2 separate regions of the Homo sapiens genome follow, and region 2 is linked to region 1. The links are contacts of gene promoters, found by promoter capture Hi-C in human tissues and cell types (Jung and others, 2019). All regions are on one chromosome and are shown on one strand. The core of a region is centred on a gene start or on the middle of the fragment in contact, and the rest is flanking DNA. Distances in the headings are between cores, read along the strand shown.

Region 1 (4,912 bases), core at 1,301-3,800:
ATCTTGTAATATTCCTCATGTTTAACATAAAACATTGAGAATTTCTATCCACATCATAAGGTGTTTGTACAAAACCATATTTAACAATAGCTGCAGAGTATTCTGTGTATTAATCTAAAACACTGAGTGTTTGGTGTTTTAATCTAAGCCATTTTGTTGCGCTTGTGCCGTAATATGCATGTAGCTCTCAGGTCTTGGACTGCAGGGAGCACAATTTGCCAAGAGCCTCAGCTGCCGTGCTCTGAAATTGATTCATTACTTGGTTTGCTGCAAGTCCATACTTCCCAGTCAATACCTAAATACAGGAAAGGTACTTAGGCTCATTTCTGGGAGACTTGGGATTCCTGACTAGTGACTTTGGCTTGAGGCCTCCCTGACAGCCTTGCAGACCTTTCCAAAGAAATATGCACAACTTCCCTTCTTCATCCCCCCGGGGGATTACATTTGCATGAAGTCTGAAGGCTCTCCCTGCTTCTCCCACTTGCTGCTTTTCCATTTTCTCTCAGAGGTCTGTTTCCCCTAATTTCTTGTACACTTAATCCCATTTTGGCATCAGTGTTTCAGAAAACCCAAACTAACAGAGATATTTAGGTTGTTTTCAGATTCTTATTCTGTATAACCAGACTAAGCCTCAGATTGCTCCATTTTGAGCACTGTTTTCTTCTGTTAAGAGCCTTTGAAGACCTTGCTTTTGTCCCCTGAATTAAGCCCAAACCCTTCTCACCTCTGTACTCTGCCGCAGCTCATCTTTCCAATCACCACTCAGTGTTCTAGTCTATTCCAATGCTGGACTCTCCCACTCCTCACTTCCATGCCTAAAGAAAACATCTACCTGACTAGATGCCTCCTCTATTCTGGATCCCTTCTTGACTTTTTAAACCCCCATGTTCTTTTCTGTCCATTTTAAAGACCACAGAAAGGTGTTTTATGCAGTGTTTTCACTCTTCTTGGCAGGTTAAAAGAGAGACTCAATGGTGAAGTATATAGAGTGTGGAATCAGGTCTGGTTTGTTATATTACCAACATTAAAACAACAAAACACTGAGATTGCATATGTTTGGAAAACACTGAGCTAAACAAAAATAATTAAAGCTTTTATATTTATTAACTGCAAAACTTCCCAGAGCCCTTAAAATGTTAATATATGCTGTGATTTTCCAAGACTAACACTGATAATTCATGTAGCTTATCCCAAATTTGACTACGAATTCTTTTAAAAAACGATCTCCAGACAGTACTGCTTCTTGGGACACACTGGGAAAAGGCAAAAGCTGTCATAGCATTTTTGCATGTATAATTTTCACAGTACTAAATATTCTTCACTTATAGTTATTTGTATATTTTTATCCATTTTCCCACTTTAGCGTTTTGCATAAGGTATTGAATATGGCAGGCACTTGTTGAATTAAAAATCACAGAATTTAAGTGTAGGTTCATATTCTGATAATACTTGGCAACTGGAGAACGTTAGTTTGCACCCTCTTTCAGTAGCTTTTTGGAGTCTTTTTCTATACCATAGTTACCTGTGCTATCTTCGAGCCTGGGAAAATAACTGCCTTGATGGTTAGTAAAAAGCCCTTGTTAAACATGGGCAAAACATTTTTTTCTACAAATCACTTTATTGGAGGAATAGTATAACAGAAGAATATAAAGATGGAGGTGATTTTAAGGGCAAGAAAGCAGGAGACAGCTGACTTTGGTCTTTGGATCCACTAGCCTGGGAGGAAGGCAGCTCGTGGCTTAGTTCTGCTTGTTTTCATTTCCAAGGGTATGTGTGTCAAAAAGGTACTCCGCCAGGCCAGCATCCGGGGCCCCCATCTTCACTAAGTTGTGCACGTGGTCACCTAGTTCTTTGATAGACTTCACCTGCTCATTCAGGTAGTAGGTTTCCAGGAAATCGCACAAATGGGGGTCACCTTTATCTGAGGCTAGAGCGTGCAATTCCAGCAACGACTGGTTCACGTTCTTTTCCAAGAGTAGAGCACACTCCATGGCATGCAGCCCGCTTTCCCAGTCGTCCTGTTCCGGCTTCTTGATGTCCTGCAGGCGGATCCGGCCTCCTCGCTGGTTCTGCAGCCTCATCAGCTTCTCCGCGTGCTCGGTCTCCTCCCGGGACTGGTGAAGGAAATACCTGGAGAAGTTGTTCAAGGCCACGTCATCCCGGGAGAAGTAATAGGCCATGGACAAGTACACGTAGGACGCATAGAGCTCGAGGTTGATCTGGCGGTTGATGGCAGCCTCGGAGTCGGGGTGGAAGTTCTGGCGCACCCGAGAGGGGCCGGCGGCGGGCCCGGTAGGGTCCCGGGAGGAGGCGGCTGCGGCCAGGGGGCGGCGGGGGGCGATCTGCCTGGGGTCCAAGGGGCGCCCCGGGGCCCAACGCAGCGGGAGCGCGAAGCAGCAGCGCACCGGGCGCAGAGACGCCAGCGAAGGGCTGATGTGCCTGGAGAGGAGCCTGAAGCAGGACAGCATAGCGCCGCCTCCTTGGAAGTGGGGAAACTGAGGCCCGGCCCTCTTGGCGTGGGGTCGGGCGCTGGAGGCGTCAGATCTGATCAGAACGTGGCCCTAGGCAACGGTGACTGCGTCACACGCCCCTTCTGTTCCAGAGGCGCGGGGTTCCACGCGGAGGGCGCTGGGGAAGCGCCGCCGGGGGCTCTGGGGACCCGCGTGGGGCGCAGTCTAGGCGGAGGCCAGCGCAGATGCCCAGTCACGATTCCGTGAGCATTCGCCCCCACCGACGACGTGAGATTTCTGCTCTTTGGCGATTGTCACTGATTTCACCTGCGTTAAAAAGGCTGTCAGGAGAGTAGGCCCTGGGACTTCCCAAAGAAGGGACCAAGCTGTACTCCCCCTTCTTCTCTGACCTTTTCATAAGGACCAAGAGTTGGACTGGCAACACAGTGAAAAGGGTGAACCAAAAGTCACCAATTTACCTGTGAGAATAAAGGTCCACATCCAAAGCAAGTGTACATAAATTAACTGGTTATTTAACATGTAAGTGTGGAAACAATTGCCAGCATAGTGGGAAAATTTTTAAGACTCTGTTTCTTTTAAAATACATGCATAGTTTATTTTTAAACATAAAATGTATCTTCATTGTAAAGAAATGAGATACTGTAGGCCGGGTGCCGTGGCTCACGCCTTTGGGAGGCCGAGGCGGGCGGATCACAAGGTTAGGAGATCGAGACTATCCTGGCTAACACGGTGAAACCCCGTCTCTACTAAAAACACAAAAAATTAGCCGGGCGTGGTGGCAGGCTGCTGTAGTCCCAGCTACTTGGAAGGCTGAGGCAGGAGAATGGCGTGAACCCGGGGGGCGGAGCTTGCAGTGAGCCGAGATCGAGCCACTGCACTCCAGCCTGGGCGACAGAGCAAGACTCCGTCTCAAAAAAAAAAAAAAAAAGAAAAAAGAAAGAAAGAATGAGAAATGAGATACCGTAGAAACCCTAGGAGGAATAAAATGCCTCTGAACTCAAAATATGTTACTTTCCCATCTTTTCTTAGTGCAGAGATTATATCCTCTTAAAATAGCTCTTTAAAAATTAAACTTTAAATAGCATTTAGTGTTAAAATAGTATTTATGTAATTGTTGCAGGGTACTGAAGAAAAAAGGGTAAGCACGCAGAAGAAAGTTCAAAACAACCCTAATTCGTCTTCTGCCGAGATTACTATTGTTAAAATGTTGATGGTAATGCTCAGAGGTTTAAAAAAATGAAAAACGTGTATTACAGACCCACAAAAGCGAATACAGACATATAAAACAGCTTTATATAGAGATATATAATTGACATACAATAAACTGCAGTTGCGGATAGTTCATGTGAATAGAGTCAACAGTATGTGCTCCTTTTTACTTGCTTTCTTTTAGTCAGTGTAATTATTTTAGGTTCCATCCACACTGTATCTTGTTTCAGTAGTTCCTTTTATTGCTGAGTAGTATTCCATTGTATGGATATACCACAATTCGTTTATCCTTTCATCTGATGATGGACATTTTTGTTGTTATAGTTTTTGGCTATTAAAATGAAGTCGTTATAGACATTCCTGTACAAGTCTTTCTGTGGTCAGATGCTCTCATTTCTCTTGATAAAATACCTTGTAGGAAAAGCCGGATTACATGATAGGTATATGTTTACTTTTTAAAGAAATTTCCAAACTGTTTTCCAAGGTGATTATGGCATTTTACATTCCCATCAGCAGAGTGTTAAGAGTTCAAGTTCCTTCACATTTTATGCTTACACATGGTATTGTCAGTCATTTAATTTTAATTAAAATTTAAAAATTTCTAATGACTGTGTGCTGGTGTTTCAATGTGTTTTTAATTTGCATTGAAGTATGTTTGCACCTGCCTTCTGTCAACCACATATTCTTGGTGAAGTGTATATTCAAATCTTTGTCCATTCATATATTGAGCTATTTGTTTTTGTTATGGTTGTTTGATTCTTATGGTTATTATCTGTCTTTGATATTAGCACTGCTTCTGTTTAGGTCTTCTTTATGTTATCTGTATATTACTGTGTCTATATTACTTTCCCTTATCTCCTTGGTCAGCTCAGATTATCTTTCTAGGTTAGTTGCCTTAGTTGTGAATTGAGAAAACTATTTACCTCCCATGGGTGGTTGAAAGAATTAAATAAGAGAATGCATACAGAGCATTTATCACAGTGCTTGACACAGGATAAGCACTTGGAATGCCCTTTAGTAGTTTTTATTGGATAATTCCTGTTTAATTATTCAAAATTAATTATCTTAATTATTCAGTAAGCAAGTATTATTGTTATTGAATATGAAAAGACCTTTACAGCTTACAAAGGATGTTTACAGATATTATATTGTTGCTATAATATATGGGTAGTGAGGTGAAAATTCTTGTATTATATGGGAGTGTCAAACTTGTAGTTTACTAGTAAGCTCCC
Region 2 (4,676 bases), core at 1,146-3,645, 40 kb before region 1:
TTGTCAAATTTTTTTATAGCCCATGAAATGCTCTTGAAAGGATCTAAGGGCCGCAAACTTTCTTTCTTTCTTTTTTTTTAAATTATACTTTAAGTTCTGGGGTACATGTGCAGAATGTGCAGTTTTGTTACATAGGTATACATACATGTGCCGTGGTGGTTTGCTGCACCCTCAACCTATCATCTACGTTAGGTATTTCTCCCAATGTTATCCCTCCCCTAGCCCCCCACCCCACAAAGGCCCCAGTGTATGATGTTCCCCTCCCTGTGTCCATGTGTTCTCATTGTTCAGCTCCCACTTATGAGTGAGAACATGCGGTGTTTGGTTTTCTGATCTTGTGATAGTTTGCTGAGACTGATGGTTTCCATCTTCACCCATGTCCCTGCAAAGGACATGAACTCATCCTTCTTTATGGCTGCATAGTATTCTATGGTGTACATGTGCCACATTTTTTTAATCCAGTCTATCATTGATGGACATTTGGGTTGGTTCCAAGTCTTTGCTATTGTGAATAGTGCCACAATAAACACATGTGTGCATGTATCTTTATCATAGAATGATTTATAATCCCTTGGGTATATGCCCAGTAGTGGGATTGCTGTCAAATGGTATTTCTGGTTCTAGATCCTTGAGGAATTGCCACACTGTCTTACACAATGGTTGAACTAATTTACACTCCCACCAACAGTGTAGAAGCATTCCTATTTTTCCATAACCTCTCCAGCATCTGTTTTTTCCTAATTCTACTAATTTTTGAACATCTATTTTGTATCCTGAATCTTTACTAAAATTGTTTATCAGTTCTAGAAGCCTTTTAGTGGAGTCTTTAGGATTCTCTCAGCATAGAATTATATTATCAGCAAAGAGAGTTTGAATTCTTCTTTTCCAATTTGGATGCCTTTTATTTCTTTTTCTTGCCTGACTGCTCTGGCTAGGACTTCCAGTACTATACTGAGTATTAGTGATGAGAGAGGCATCCTTCTCTTGTTCTATTTCTCAAGGGGAGTGGTTCCAGCTTTTGCCAGTTCAGTATGATACTGGCTGTGGGTTTATCATAGATGGCCCTTATTATTTTGCAGTATGTTCTTTGATGCCTAGTTTGTTGAAGATTGTTGTCATGAAGAGATGTCGGATTTTATTGAAAGCTTTTTCTGAATCTGTTGAAATGGCCTTATGGTTTTGTTTTTAATTGTGTTTATGTTGTAAATCACATTTGTTGATTTGTGTCTAATGAACCAGTCTTGCATCCCATGAATAAAGCCTACTTTATTGTGGTGTATTAACCTATTCATGTACTTCTGGATTCCATTTTTTGGTATTTTGTTCAGGATTTTTGCATCTATGTTCATCATGTATATCACCCTGAAGTTTCTTTTTTCGTTGTGTCTCTGCCCAATGTTGGTATTAGGCTGATGCTGCGATCATAAAATGAGTTAGGGAGGAGGAACTTCTCAATTTTTTCAAATAGTTTTGTAGGATTTGTATGAGTTCTTCTTTGTACATCTGGTGGAATTTGTCTGTGATTCCATCTGGTCTAGGGCTTTTTTGGTCAGTAGAATTTTTATTACTGATTCAATTTCAGAGCCTGATATTGGTCTATTTTAGGGTTTCAATCTCTTCCTGACTCAACCCTGGGAGATTGCATTTCTAGAAATGCATCCATTTCTTTTAGATTTTGTAATTCGTGTTCATAGCATTTTTTGAGAATCTTTTGTTTTTCAGTAGAATCAGTTGTAATGTCATATTTGTCTTTCTGAGTGTACTTATTTGTATGTTCTCTCTTTTTTTGTTAATCTAGCTAGCAATATATCACTCTTGTTTATTTTTTCAGAGAACCAACTCTTGGTTTCACTGATTTTTCGTATAGATTTTTGCATCTCAATTTCATTCAGTTCTTCTCTGGTTTTAGTTATTTTTTTTCTCTTCTGCTAGCTTTGGGGTTGAGTTTTTTCCCCCTAATTCCTTTAGGTGCGAAGTTAGCATGTTAAATTGAGATCTAACTTTTTGATGAAGGCATTTAGTGCTATACATATCCTCTTAACATTGCTTTAGCTGCCTCCCAGAGGTTCTGGTACATTGTGTCCGTAATTTTATTGATTTCAAAGAACGTTTTCTTGATTTCTGCCTTAAATTTGATGTTCTCCTATAAGTTATTCAGGAGTAAGTTGATTAATTTCCATGAATTTCTGTAGTTTTGAGAAATATACTTGGTATTGATTTCTGTGGTTGCTGAGTGGAGTGTTCTGTAGATGTTTATTAGTTCAATTTAGCCACATGTCAAGTTTAAGTGCAGAATTTCTTTGTTACTTTTCTGCCTCAATGATCTGTCTAATGCTGTCAGTGGTGTTTTAAAGTCTTCCACTATGATTGGGTCATTGTCTAAGTCTTTTTGGAGGCCAAGAAAAACTTGTTTTATAAATTGGCTGCTCCAATGTTGAGGGTATATATATATATATATATATATATATATATATATATATATATATATGTATATATATATGATAGTTAAGTCTTCTTGTTGGATTGTACCCTCTAGTATTATGTGATGTCTTTCTTTGTTCTTAATTTTTATTTATTTAAAATCATTTTATCTGATATAAGAATAGTGAATCCCATTTTTTTTTCCTGTTTGCATGCTAAATCTTACTCCATCAATTTACTTTGAGCTTTTGGGTGTCGTTACAACATGTGAGACATATTACCCAATTTCTTACATCATTGGTTCAGTAATTTATTCTTTTTTTCCATTGTCTTTCAGGTTTTGAGCATATTCAACTTGAAAAGTAGGTTACTGTTGATGATTTCCCAGGTTTCATTAACATCTTCAACAATCTACCAAGTCTTAATTAATGGGGAGTAGCATGTTAAACATTGGCCATTTATCTAAACACTGTCTCTGAATTTGAACTAACATAACTATTTTTAGATTCTTTTACCTATTTGTTACCCTTCCCGATTGTTCAATTGATATTATTCACTTATTAAGGCAAATATTGGCAACTGTAAGAGTAAAATCTTGTTATCATGTGTAGGCTTTAATGCTGATTTGAAAGTTACAGTCATTTTTATGGCATCTACTCAAATAACACTTCTTCTTGTAATGTAATGATTTTTGACACTTTTCTTTGACAGACAGCCCAAAATATTTTCAGTTTATCTAATTTATGTCTAATAAAAATCTACTCATGCCTCTGTGGGTGGACACAGCCAAAGCATGAAATAGTGCTGAGCATCAGCACCGCTTCTTCTGTTAATGAAGTTTCTGGAGAAAAACTTGACTCAAACAGCAGGGGCTGAGTTCCTTTTCTTGTCTGTTTTGCAGCCTACTAAGCCATTTTTATTGCTACACTTTAAATTTAGTCAAAAGGTTAAACATTTATTTATCTCGACATGTATTATAAGCAGTTTTTTCACTGTGGGGCATTTTACATGATTATTATTAAATTTAAACTTTCTCAATCTTGTGTATTTGGTCCAGGAGATGTTTTATTCCAGTGATTGTAACAGAGGCAGGAGGCAGAAAAATCCCAGGCAGACCAGCGTGGGTCCCCATTGAAACCCCACCTTCAATCCACAAACAGTCCCACAGACCAGAGTGAGAACTTCTATTTATGTTTGCCCACTCTCACTCAATTGATTTTCTGAATAATGCCTTTTAACCAATCGAATGCTGCCTTTTCAATACTACTTACAGCCCACCCTGTACCCATCCTGTGCCTGTAAAGACCCCAGACTCAGTTGGTAGAAGGGAAGTGGCCTGACTTTGGGGAGGAGATGTGCTGACTTTGGGGACGAGATCTCCTGACTTCGGGGAAAGACGACCTGCCCTTCCCATCCCCTCCCCAGGTCCCCTCTCTACTGAGAGCTGTTTTCGTTGCTCAATAAAATTCTCCACCCTCACCATCCTCAGGCGTCAAGTGTGACCTCATTCTTCTTGGATGCTGGACAAAAGCTTGAGACTCACTGAGTGTGGGTACCCAGAAAGGCTGTCACACTGGTTCTTTGCTCTCACCAGAGGAGGGCAGCTGCTCCACATGATGGGACCAGTGGGAGACTGAGCTGCTAACATGCTACCATCCATCGGGCTGTGGACAGTGGAGCTAAAAGAGCTAATTAGCGCACTAACATCCCCTCTGGGGCTTCCAGGTCATAGGCACCCTTGCCTGGGTGCGACTGTGTTCCTCTTTAGGTGACACGCAGCTTGGTCTGGCTGCAGGCCCCGCACAGACCTTGCTGCTATGTCGATGGAGTGGCCAGCCAGATCCCGCACTCACTTGTTCCTGTGCTCCTTCCCACAAGAGGCTAAGCATGGCAGGCCGAGTAGACAGGGTACCCTTGATGGAAGTCTGGCAAAGGGGCCAAGAAAAATCCTGAATCAATTGCACGCTTAAAAAATGTATCTTTTTGCAGGTCGCGGTGGCTAACGCCTATAATCCCAGCACTTTGGGAAGCCGCGGCAGGCGGATCACGAGGTCAGGAGATCCAGACCATCCTGGCTAACACGGTGAAACCCCATCTCTACTAAAAAATACAAAAAATTAGCCGGGCATGGGGGCGGGCGCCTGTAGTCCCAGCTGCTCGGGAGGCTGAGGCAGGAGAATGGCTTGAACCCTGGAGCCAGAACTTGCAGTGAGCGAGATAGCACCACTGCACTCCAGCCTGGGCGACAGAGCGAG

The links. Contacts are between HindIII fragments. The study calls those that stand out against the background at their distance.
Region 2: a contact is called between a fragment that was not itself captured here and the fragment with the promoter of FTMT in region 1, in 1 of the 25 tissues and cell types used here (adrenal gland).

The regions. Positions count from the first base shown.
Region 1 is chr5:121,849,520-121,854,431 of GRCh38, reverse strand. It overlaps FTMT (ferritin mitochondrial), which reads right to left and starts at 2,550. Exons shown (of 1, transcript NM_177478.2): 1 at 1,599-2,550. The coding sequence starts at 2,468. The coding sequence ends at 1,740. The region is part of intron 3 of LOC105379149 (a long non-coding RNA gene); the gene reads right to left. The HindIII fragment of the contact is 10,616 bases long and covers 1-4,912 here.
Region 2 is chr5:121,890,020-121,894,695 of GRCh38, reverse strand. No RefSeq gene overlaps it. Among named protein-coding and RNA genes, the nearest start is that of FTMT, 40 kb to the right of the region's middle. The HindIII fragment of the contact is 5,740 bases long and covers 1-4,676 here.